Regions from separate parts of the Homo sapiens genome. Here regions 1 and 3 are each linked to region 2. Evidence: promoter capture Hi-C in human tissues and cell types (Jung and others, 2019). All regions are on one chromosome and are shown on one strand. The core of a region is centred on a gene start or on the middle of the fragment in contact, and the rest is flanking DNA. Distances in the headings are between cores, read along the strand shown.

Region 1 (3,899 bases), core at 1,045-3,544, 110 kb before region 2:
GAAATGGGAGGCAGTGGAGTGTGGTGGTTAGAGCTCAGACTTGAGCCTCAGACATCCCAGCCCTGCCATGTAAGCAGCTTTATGACCTAGGGTGAGTGACTTCATCTCCCTGTGCCTCAGTTTTCCCATCTGTGCCTCTCCCAAGGTCACCACGCAGAATTAATGAGATGATGTATATGATGTTCGTAGCACTGCACCTGGCACATTGCCATGGAGGAGCTACCTGTGCTCTGAGAATTAGCAGATGTTCCCTGGTCCCTTTTCCTGGATTGGGGTGAGGAAAGGGGACCAGGGGACACCTGTCTGCCCAGGAGGAGTATCCCTACACCCTAGAAAGAAGCTGAGGCTGAGCAGCCTCTGGAGGCGACACTCCAGAATGAGCGGGAGGGAGCTGCCATTTAGCAGGTGTTTAGGGGTCTCTCTGCTGGTTGAAGGGGTGGGGAGGCACCTCTCAACTCTGTGGGAGGGCAGAAGTTAAGCAAACCTCCATGGGGCTATTAGAACTCCAGGGAAGGTGCCTGTGTGCCAGCCTCTCCTAGACCCTTCCAATTCCTTTACCTGTTCTGGAAGGCAAGAAGAAAGACGGAGGCTTGAGTCTGGCTTCTTGGTCTCCATCCCCTGGCTTGCTTGCCAAGAGTAGCAGCCAGAGCCGCTCCCAGATGCATGGGTACCCTGGCCGGCGCCCTTCCCCAGCCCAGCCTCTGGCCACCCAGCGCTGTGGCCTTGGCCCTGAGTGCAGGCCCTCCCCTGTTCCCATCCCCCTCGCCTGGCGCTTCCTCCTGGGGTAGAACCGCCTCCCCCCCCATGGGGCCTCCTGGCAGCCCGCCCGCAGCTCCCTGAGCATGCTCCACCTATTTATAGACAGGGCCCTCCCCCAACTGCTATTTCAGTCTCCTGCCAGCTGCCGGCGGCGGCTCATTCGGGAAGGAGGAGCAGGGAGCCGGGCCCAGAGCTGTCACCCAGGGTTGGGAGGGAACACAGAGCCCGCCTGCCCGCTGAGCTCCCCTTCCTGTCCCAAGTGCTCAGCCATACCCCAGCTCCCAGGAACCAGGGAGAGGCTGGTGGTCGGATGCCCCTCTAGAGCAGAGCTGGGCCTGCAGCTCTAGGGCCTCCCTGCCCCTCCTGCCGCCAGGAGTGCCCAGGCCGGATGAGGCACTTCCCTACAGTGTGGGTCCCGTCGGCAGTGGCCTGAGGGAACCTGTGCTGTGCGGGCTGCCCGACCACCTTCCCTTCGGTCTGCTCCCCGCCTCTGGCGGCCCCCTCCCTGGCATGCTGCTGGTGCCCAAGGCTCAGGGGCTCGTGGAGATGCTGCAGACCATCTATGAGACAGAATCCTGTTTCTCAGCAGATGGGATGTCAGGTCGGGAACCATCCTTGGAAATCCTGCCGCGGACTTCTCTGCACAGCATCCCTGTGACAGGTAAGTGCCTTGATGTCCCTGCCTGCCCTCTGTCATCTGGCATCCTTGTCCCTGGGCTGAGCATCTGGCCCTGAGCCTTGCACAGATAGGGTCCTGCATAGATCTGTCTTGAGAGTTTTGTTGAGAATACACAGGGCTGGGGGATCCCTGCTCAGAGAGGCCCCTGCCCTCCCTGCCCAGAGCCTGCTGCTCCCCGGTGCCCCTCCGCTGTACTCTGCTGCATCTCTTCCAGTCCCTTCAGTCTCTGGCAGGGTCGGCATCCACTGCTGGGGGCTGGGGGTTACTGGAGGATCCTGGCCTAGTTGGCACTGTGGTCAGAGGGGAGGAAGTGGGTCAGTGACCCGCCTCCATGCTGCCCGCTCCCCAAGTTTGGGCAAGGGAAGAAGGTGTAGCTGGGTGTCCACAAGAATAAAGGTTACTCCAGCTCCTCTGGCTTGGTTCTTGGGGCTACAGGATCGAGTACAGTGACTTCCGCAAGTCCCCAGCCAGGAGTCTCTTGAGAATCAGACACTTGGGGAGGCTTGGTGCAGTCATGATGGAGTTAGGCAGAGGCTGGCAGCTTGGATATTGAGGGGCTTGGCTGCCTTAGCCCCTAGCTGTCTCCCGATGGCGCTCCTCTCCCCAGGTCTGGGTTGATTCCCATCTCATGAGGATGAAGAGGTGTTACTCTGGCTCAGATGGGCTTCGGGACCCCCTAATCCTGCCACCTTCTCAGCAGGAACTTTTTTGGCTCTTGGCTAGGGGTGGGGTCCCCCAGAGCTGGGCCGCTCCTTCCCTCACTCCCAGGAACCTGTTGGCAGCATCAAGCCTTCCTGGCACAGCCTCCCCACCAGGCCGGCACCACAAGATGCTTCCTCCAGGGAGGGGCCTGCTGGACCCATGCCTGCTCAGCCCCTCCTGGCAGTGGCTTGGCACTCAAGTGTGGGTGTCTGTGTGTGTGCGTGTGAATGGGGAGTCCTTGCCTCTGGATATGTGGGTGTGCATCCCAAGCTTCAAATTGGAAAGTGGGAACTGTGTGCCTCTGCAGGTGCCTGTGATTTGGCTCTGAGCTGCCCAGGGATAAGGTTGCAGTGGGACTTGGATGTGTCAGAGCATGAATGTTTTGGGAAGATTCAAAAAATCTTTGGAACATGGCTTATCATCTGCCCAGGCAGGGATGCCCATGCAGTTTTCTCATGTAGGAGCATGACCCTGAAGACTAGCCCTGCAGGGTATCCATGCAGGCCCCGAGGATAGGGGCATTACCCTGGGGCCAGCCCTGTAGGCTGGGGTGGGGATGGGGGTGTAACCTTGGGAACCGGCTCTACAAGATACCCACGTAGTCCCCTGAGGTAGGGGCGTATGCCTGGGGGCCCCCTACACAGGTCCCTGGGATGAGGAATAAACCCAGAGGGCTGGTTCTTATCCTGGTCTGGAGTCCACAGGTCCAGCTAAAGACCCTGCCTGCTGGCCCCTAGCCCACAGCCTCTGGGACTCAAGGTGGTCTCTTGGAAGGCAGAATAATCCCAGAGCATCTGCTTGGGACAGCTCCACGCCATCTGGCTTATCAGGTCCACCCATCCTGCCCTGTCGCCTCTGTTCCTTGCTACCAGCAGCAGCCAGCAGTTGGCCGGAAGTTTCCTCCTCAGCTTGTTCATTCACCTGCTTCCAGATTGTACCCCAGAAACCTTGCAGGCTGGGACCCTGCTCTCTCATCTCCTCCCTAAGCCTGGCTGCCCCTGCATGGACTCCCAGGCAGCCCCTCTGTCCAGATCCCTGTCTCCCCACTCCACCCCCAACGCTGGCTGGCCTTCAGAGTGGTGGCTTGGTCCATGCTGGCAGGAGGGAGGCGTGAGTCACCTCAGCGGCTCGGGGAGAGGGCTAAGAATGTTCCCCCTGCGCAGCTCTGATGCTGTGTCTGTGACGCGGCTAGGGACAGATATAGGCCTGGAGCTCGGCAGCCTTGTTTTTTTTTTGTTTTTTTTTTGTTTTTTTTTTGGACTCTGGAATGTAAATAGATGTTTCAAATAGAAACACTTTAACCTTTGGGTTAAAAAAAATCCACCCCGGATAAACACGGCCATGAGGGCCCAGGCAGCCTGGTGTTTCCCTCCCCACCCCCTCTCCCCATCTCTTGATCGGTCTCCAGACAGGATGCAAGATCCTATGGCTGAAAAAGCAGGTGTCCAGGGAAGCTTCTTTGGATGGTGTGAGTTGCGCAGGTCTCCCAAGCCCAAGGGGTTGGGGCAAGGGTCTTTCGAGGGTGGTGCCTGCCTGCCACCTCCAGCAGCATCTTTAGAACCCTATTTTAGGGATAGCCTTTGCTCTCTGGGCTGTCTTGGTTGTTGCCATTGCCCAGCACCTAGCACAGTGCCTGGCACATGGATGAATGAATGTCGCATGGGGAGGGCTGGAGTCCAGAATTGCTGGCAGGATTCCTGGGCTCTATTCTGGGGCCTGGACCTCTGGGTGAATAGAGACAGCTTTAGTGAGTCACCCC
Region 2 (3,508 bases), core at 181-2,680:
TGTCTCCACCGAGACGATGCCGCCGTAGCTGTGGGCCAGACGTGGTGCTCGAGAGGGCCCCCTCCAGGCCTGCCGGACGGGGCAGGGCGGGCAGAGTAGCACGCTCTGAGGACGCCTGGGCGGGCAGGGCGGGCACTCACCTGGCATGGGGAGCCGGCTCGGCAGCGCGTAGCACAGACCCGCCGCCAAAAAATGGCACAGCAGCGGCGGCGTTGTGTCGAAGCGCGTCTACCAGCACCTTGCAGCTCTTGGCCAGCTGCGCCTTGGCCTCCCAGAAGGAAAGACAGCCCGAGGGAGCCGTAGGGGCCGGCAGCCCCAGGACCACCAGCGGCTTCATGTCCATGCGCTGCAAGAAGGCCAGGGCAAAGGCCAGACTGGATACGCCCTGCTGGCACTTGAGCACCTCCTCGTCCACCTGCGGAGGAGTGGGCTTTCAAGGAGCGTGACACGGACCTGAGCCGCTGGCTCCCACAGCCTGGCCTGCAGGGCCGTCTCGGTGACCCTACCCTTCCAGAAGCTGTCAGGACCCAGTTCTGGCCACCAGTGCCCACCTGCTCCGCCCTTTGCCCCGTTGGGTCTTGCCACTCCCTTGTCTCACGCTGGGGTACCTCCCGCCCTCCTCCCTCCGACCTTGGACTCCGGGACATCTTTGGGGGAGGGGCAGTGCAAGCGGCTCCTGTCCAGGTCCTTCTGAACCCCTAACTGCGCCCATGTTGGGGGCCTTCTTCAGAGCATCACACCTGGCGGGTGGGGTCCCCCAGGATCCTCACTCGGGCTGGGCGGGAGGCTTCCGGAGGAGCTTACGGCCTCTCCCATTCCCGGCGGCGCTGGTCTGGGCCCTGCCGGGCTCCTTCCCGCTTCCGCTGCGCAGAGCCCGCAGCGTATCCTGCCATGCCTGAGGACAGGTGGCCGCACAACCCCATCCCCTCGCTGCGTCACGGCCCACGCCGGGCTCCGCTCACCTCGATGACGGCGAAGGGCTTGTCCGCGGAGTGATGGCAGGTCTGGAACTGCGTGAGCCAGTGGCGCGCCTCCCCAGGGCTGGCCCCGCACTGGTTCAGGAAGGCCTGGATGTCCCGCTGCACCAGCGAGCGGCCCGAAGGAGGCTCTGGGGACTCGTGGGGCACCGGGGGCCTGGGACTCGGCACCCACGACGGCTCCTCGGCGACGGGCGACTGGGAGACGTCGTCCGCGCCCGCGTACTCCTCGGGCGGGGGCTGGGGCTGCGACCAGGCGGTGCTGAGCCGGCGCCCCGGGCTGGTGCCCCTCGCCGCCCGCCGCCGCGCGCCACAGCTCAGCCTTCGGGCGCCCCCAGTGCCTCCCCGGCCTCTCAGCCTCGGGGCTACAGCAGCTGCCCGCAGAACCACAGCCATCAGCGCCGTCGCCATGACGACAACCAACTCTTGCCCCCCAAGAGTGGCAGTCTGTCTGGAGCGTCTGGCACTGGGGGGCTCTTAACTTGCCGTTGGGCGGGGCTGGACCTGGTCGGGGCGGGGTCCGGACAGGGGACCAGGAGTCTCCTCTGGGTGCGTTTGAGGAGGGTCAGGCCATGAGTCAGGGGGCGGGGCCACTAGGCTCCCCCGCCCCTGGAGGAACTGAACCCACTATCGGTCATGGGGCCGAGACTAAATGTGGCGGGTTGTCTTTAATCTGCTGCCAAGGTAGGTTCCAGGGGCGGCTTTGGGAGTCTGCAGGGCCTTGGATGATTGGCATTCTGACCAGAGAAGAAGGGACTGTAGGTGGCTTTGAGCACAGGGCTGGGCAGGGGGCTGGAAGGAGGGCGCTGGAAAGAGTAGAAGAAGGGGGGCAGTGGGAGGGCGGGGGCGGGTGGTGCTGGCCTTGTCTGTCCTGTTGCCTGAGCTCAAAAAAGATCCTAATGAATGACCATGAGGTTACCAGGGTTTGCCAAACTCCAGTCACTGGGTACCAGCTTGAGGAATTCTGTGATATCCTCAAAACACCCCTCAAAACTTATAATACTTTAGTGTTAATGCTTTTCTTTATCGAATATCACATCTGGTAAAAATAAAATAAAATAGAGTTTTTTATTTTGGTTTTTGAGATAGGGTCTCACTCTGTTGTTGCCCAGGCTGCAGTACAGTGGTGCAATCATAGCTCACTGCAGCCTCCACCTCCCAGGTTCAAATGATCCTCCTGCCTCAGTCTCCCTAGTAGCTGGGACCACAAATGCACACCACCATGCCCAGCTGATTTAAAAAAAAATTATTTTTTTTGAAGACGGGTGTTCACCATGTTGCCCAGACTGTTCGTGAACTCCTGAGCTCAAGCAGTCCTCCCACTTCTGCCTCCCAAGGTGCTGGGATTACAGGTGTGAGCTACTTCACTCGACCTCTGTAACCCTTTTTTTTTTTTTTTTTTTTGTTTGTTTGTTTGTTTGAGATGGAGTCCCACCCTATTGCCCAGGCTGGAGTGCAGTGTTGCGATCTCGGCTCACTGTAATCCCCGCCTTCTGGGTTCAAGCGATTCTCCTGCCTCAGCCTCCTGAGTAGCAGGGATTACAGGCAGACACCATCACACCCGGCTAATCTTTGTATTTTTAGTAGAGACAGGGTTTCACCATGTTGGCCAGGATTGTCTCAAACTCCTGACCTCGTGATCCACCTGCCTCAGCCTCCCAAAGTGCTGGGATTACAGGCGTGAGCCACCACGCCCGGCCCTCTTTAACCTTTTTAAACTTAAAGTTTATCCATGTTAGGTCTGTAACTAGGCCAGTATCACTTGCCATAAGCCTTAAGAATCAAGTGAGGAGGCGGGTGGGTCATTTGAGGTCAGAAGTTCAAGACCAGCCTGGCCAACATGGTGAAACCCCATCTCTACTAAAAATACAAAAATTAGCCAGGCAGTAGTGGCATGTTTCTGTAATCCCAGCTACTCAGGAGGCCAGAGAATCACTTGAGCCTGGGAGGAGGAGATTGCGGTGAACTGAGACTGTGCCACTGCACTCCCGTCTGGGCGACAGAATGAGACCCTGTCTCAAAAAAATTAAAATTAAAATTAAAATCAAAATTAAAAAAGAATCAAGTGAGAGGAAAACAATGTTATTACATTCCATTATATTCCATCTGCATAGCTTGCCTGCTTTCTTGGTAACATGGAAGGTTAGCAGGTGCCATGTGTTAAAGATACCCTAGCACCAAGCAAAGCCTTCTGTGTGGTAGAGGAATAGCTAACACATGTCGAATGCTAGGCACTATGCAAAGGACTTCACAAATAGTCATTCATTTAATCCTCTCAGTGACTCCAGGATAGCTATTATCATTATTCCCATTTTACAGATGAGAAAATGGAGGTACAGAAATATGTGAGGATCAGGGTCACTCAGCTCACAAGCCGTGGAGCTGGTCTAGGAAGCAGTTCTGCTCCAGATCCATGCTGTTAAGCAAGTTTTGGAAAGGAGTTGAAAGGCTTGAAAACATTCACAGGATATGATTCAATGTTACTTCATACTGTGTCCATGTGCTGGGCACTGTCAGCTGCACACATCCTG
Region 3 (3,839 bases), core at 356-2,855, 73 kb after region 2:
CATAGCCCTCCTCCCCACCTCACTTGAGCAGGCCCCTCCTACCCTCCAAGCTGTAGTTCCAGCGCTCATGCCGGAACTGGAACTGGCACTCCAGGCCGAGGTGCATGGCGTCCCACAGGGTCTCAGCCAGGCTGGGCTCCCTCCCGCAGAGCTGCTTCTGCTGCCGGGACAACTTCAGCAGGTCACACTGCTTCAGGTGGGCCCTGCCCTGTGCTGGGGCCACCGCAGTGCCCAGTCCTGGGAAGGGCATCAGGACCTCCCACCTGGTCAGGCTGGAGACGGCGAGAGGACAGAGACGGGTGAGCCTTGGGGATGGTGGTGAGGGGCAGGTGAAGGGAAGGGAGCCTCCTTGGGTGCCCCCAGTGTGGGTGGAATATACATCATTTCAGGGCTCACCCCAAAAGAAGTAACCCCGTTCTGGGACATCCTGGGCTCCTAGCCAGGGTAAAAGAGCAAAGGTGGGCGAGGTGCGGTGGCTCACACCTGTAATCCCACCACTTTGGGAGGCCAAGGCAGGCGGATTGCTTGAGTCCAGGAGTTTGAGACCAGCCTAGATGACATAGCGAAACCCCATCTCTACTAAAAGTATGAAAATTAGCCAGGCATGGTGGCACAAGCCTGTAGTCCCAGCTACTTGGGAGGCTGAGGCAGGAGGATAGTTTGAGCTCAGGAGGTGGAGGCTGCAGTGAGAAGAGATCACGTCACTGAACTCCAACCTAAGCAACCGAGTGAGACCCTGTCTCAAAAAAGAAAAAGAAAAAAAAGAAAAAAAGAAAAGAAAAGCAAAAGTAGAACCAGGCAATGGCTCCTTTTTTGTTTGTTTGCTTGTTTATTTGTTTGTTTGTTTGAAACGTAGTCTTGCTCTGTCGCCAGGCTGCAACCTCCGCCTCCCGGGTTCAAGCGATTCTCCTCCCTCAGCCTCCCAAGTAGCTGGGACTACAGGCATGCACCACCACCACGCCTGGCTAATTTTTGTATTTTTAGTAGAGATGGGGTTTCACCATGTTGGCCAGGATGGTCTCAATCTCCTGACCTTGTGATCTGCCTGCCTTGGCCTCCCAAATTGCTGGGATTACAGGTGTGAGCTACCGCGCCCGGCTGCAGTAGCTCTTAAAGTGCCACATCCTGCTTAGATGTGGCACTTATCATGTTGCTCATGTGCCACTGGCCAGGGTAAGTCCTGTGGTCAAGCCAGGAGTAGTCAGAGAAGCCCACATTCCTCTGAGCCAAGGGACAGCTCTCCTGTTTGGAGCCACTTGCCTTAACCAGGGCTTCTGACTGGATGCCACATCCTCTCTGTATGCCCCAGAAGTTGGAAGCCTCACCAGAGGGTATGCGGCCTGGCCAGGCCCCAGGTGGCCTCAGAAATCACCCGTAGATTCCACACCCATCAGGTGCAGTCAAACCATCATGGAGCATATCTCTGAAACCTCTGAGCAGAGACAGATGCTATCGGGCTCCCCTTGGCCTAGCCTGACCCTGGGCTCCTCTCCCAGACAGGGTGAGGGCAGGGACCCGTTAATCATTAATCTGGGGCAAATGGGTAATTTTACAGTCCACCAGGTCTACACCCAAACCCCTCCCTGCAGCCTGGCAGGAAGCCCTCAGAGACTTTGCAGGTCCAGAGCAGAACTGGATGTCAACTCCAGCTGAGGAGGCCACGCCTTGACTGGCTTCCAGTGTGGAGGGCAGCTTGGGGGCTGCAGCTACCTTGCCCTCAAATGTCCTCCTCCTCACACCAAGGGCTGGTGTGAGTGGCGACTTCTGCTCACACGATTCCAGTGTTTCAGAAACTGGACCTCCCTGGTAGCAGCTGATTGACAGAGGAGAGAGCAAGCAGGGAGTGATGGAAATTTTGGCCAATGAAGCTGCATATCCTTCAAGACCTGCCTCATATGCCATTTTAAGAATAACGGCTATTATTATTGTATCATCATAGCTACATTATATGTCATATGATATGATATATAACACATTATTATTTTTACTACTTTTTTTTGAGACAGAGCCTCACTGTGTTGCCCAGGCTAGAGTGCAGTGGCATGATCTCTGCTCACTGTAACCTCCGCCTCTCAGGTTCAAGCAATTCTCCTGCCTCAGCCTCCTGAGTAGCTGGGACTACAGGCACGGGCCACCACGCCTGGCTAATATTTGTATTTTTAGTAGACACGGGGTTTCACCATGTTGGCCAGACTGGTCTCGAACTCCTGACCTCAAGTGTCCACCCACCTCAGCTTCCCAGAGTGTTGGGATTACAGGAGTGAGCCACCACGCCCAGCCCAAGCTGTGTTCTTGTCTGGGACTCCCCTATGGTATGGAGTGGAGGCTCTAAGTTGGTTTGCCTAACTAAAGGCGTCATCCTTGATTATGACCTCTGACATCTGGAGAGTGCCAGAATTCCCTAGGCTGCACTTGGGCCCAGGGAACCTCACCTCTACAAAAAAATATAAAAATTAGCTGGGCGTGGTGGCATGCACCTGTGATCTTCTTCCTTTGTGGTGCAAAATCTTATTTCTGCCTACTGGCCAATTGATCAGGAATATGCACCCTGGTGTTTCAATCTCCAAACAATAACATTTTGCCTAACAAACTATTCAGGTTCAGGTTCCTTTAGTAATGCCTGTTTCCTCTCCCCACCCCACACACCAAGCGGGCTGTACATTTCATTCCCGTTAGCAGGACTAAATATCTCTGCTACACTCGGCACCGGGATAGCCAGTTGGAGGACCCCTAATTTTCTGCCTCCTAATACTAACAATTGGCCCATGTGTACTCACCTTCATATCCTGCTTTATCTCCCAAAGGCTGAACTCCCTTGTTCAGGCAACCACCCAGAAACACATGAATACCGTCATTCTCCTCCGCCAAGGCCGGTATCAGCGCCTCAAGGAAAACAACTCTGAAGTCGAACGCCCACTGCTTCAAAACCCACACGCCGAGTACAGCACCCCTATTCGGAAGGAAGTAGCCAGACAATCAACAACACAACACCCCTCTTCCTTTTATATTAAAGTAAAAGGCAAGAATGTTAGCCAAACTGCACCATGTTACAAGTTCCTTGCTATTTTGCAGACCTTGGTCAAAGCGAAACATTTCACAGGGGTTCAGGCCATGAGAAACATCCTACCTAACCACCTGACCACAGGGCGGACAAAGGCCCAACGAAAGAAACATCCCTGGCCTGGTGCAATGGCTCACACCTGTAATCCCAGCATTGTGGGAAGCTGAGGCGGGCAGATCACTTGAGGTCAGGAGTTCGAGATCAGCAGCCTGGCTAACATGGTGAAAACCTGTCTCTACTGAAAACACAAAAATTAGCTGGGTATGGTGGTGCACACCTGTAATCCCAGCTACTCAGGAGGCTGAGGTAGGAGAATTGCTTGAACCCAGGAGGCAGAGGTTGCAGTGAGCCGAGATCACGCCACTGCACTCCAGCCTGGGCAAGAGAGTGAGACTCCATCTAAAAAAAAAAAAAAAAGAAAAAAGAAAAAGAAAACAAAAAAGAAAGAAAAGAAAAAGAAACATCCTTGTCATATCTTGCTGGACAAAGGTCCAAGGAACACCATGATGACATCCCGCTGGAACAAGGGCCAGAAGCACCTCATCATGGGAACATCTCATCAATATCCTGCCAGGCAGCAAGCCCTACTGCCCAGACCCCTCCCCACCATACCTATAAATTGCCCTAGCCTGTAAGCAGTGGTGGGCTCTGGCATGAGGCTGGTCTCCCACTTCTGTAGGGTTTATGCTGGACATAAAACCTGCATTTGCTGTTGAGCTGCCCTCTTTCTGTGTGTCTTTCTTTAACCCTTGCTTTTTCTTCAAAACCTAACAACAGT

The links. Contacts are between HindIII fragments. The study calls those that stand out against the background at their distance.
Region 1: a fragment that was not itself captured here is called in contact with the fragment with the promoter of NAGS in region 2 in 2 of the 25 tissues and cell types used here (lymphoblastoid cells and spleen).
Region 3: a contact is called between a fragment that was not itself captured here and the fragment with the promoter of NAGS in region 2, in 2 of the 25 tissues and cell types used here (IMR-90 fibroblasts and dorsolateral prefrontal cortex).

Annotation. Positions count from the first base shown.
Region 1 is chr17:44,108,250-44,112,148 of GRCh38, reverse strand. It overlaps HDAC5 (histone deacetylase 5), which reads left to right. Exons shown (of 27, transcript NM_005474.5): 3 at 1,349-1,420. Among named protein-coding and RNA genes, the nearest start is that of HDAC5, 13 kb to the left of the region's middle. RefSeq lists an enhancer at 1-135. The HindIII fragment of the contact is 4,562 bases long and covers 14-3,899 here.
Region 2 is chr17:44,002,544-44,006,051 of GRCh38, reverse strand. NAGS (N-acetylglutamate synthase) reads right to left here and starts at 1,430. Exons shown (of 7, transcript NM_153006.3): 1 at 963-1,430; 2 at 141-415; 3 at 1-28. The coding sequence starts at 1,388. It also overlaps a transcript of PYY not described here. RefSeq lists an enhancer at 1-507. The HindIII fragment of the contact is 21,260 bases long and covers 1-3,508 here.
Region 3 is chr17:43,928,906-43,932,744 of GRCh38, reverse strand. It overlaps LOC102724183. Among named protein-coding and RNA genes, the nearest start is that of LINC01976, 7.4 kb to the left of the region's middle. The HindIII fragment of the contact is 7,048 bases long and covers 1-3,839 here.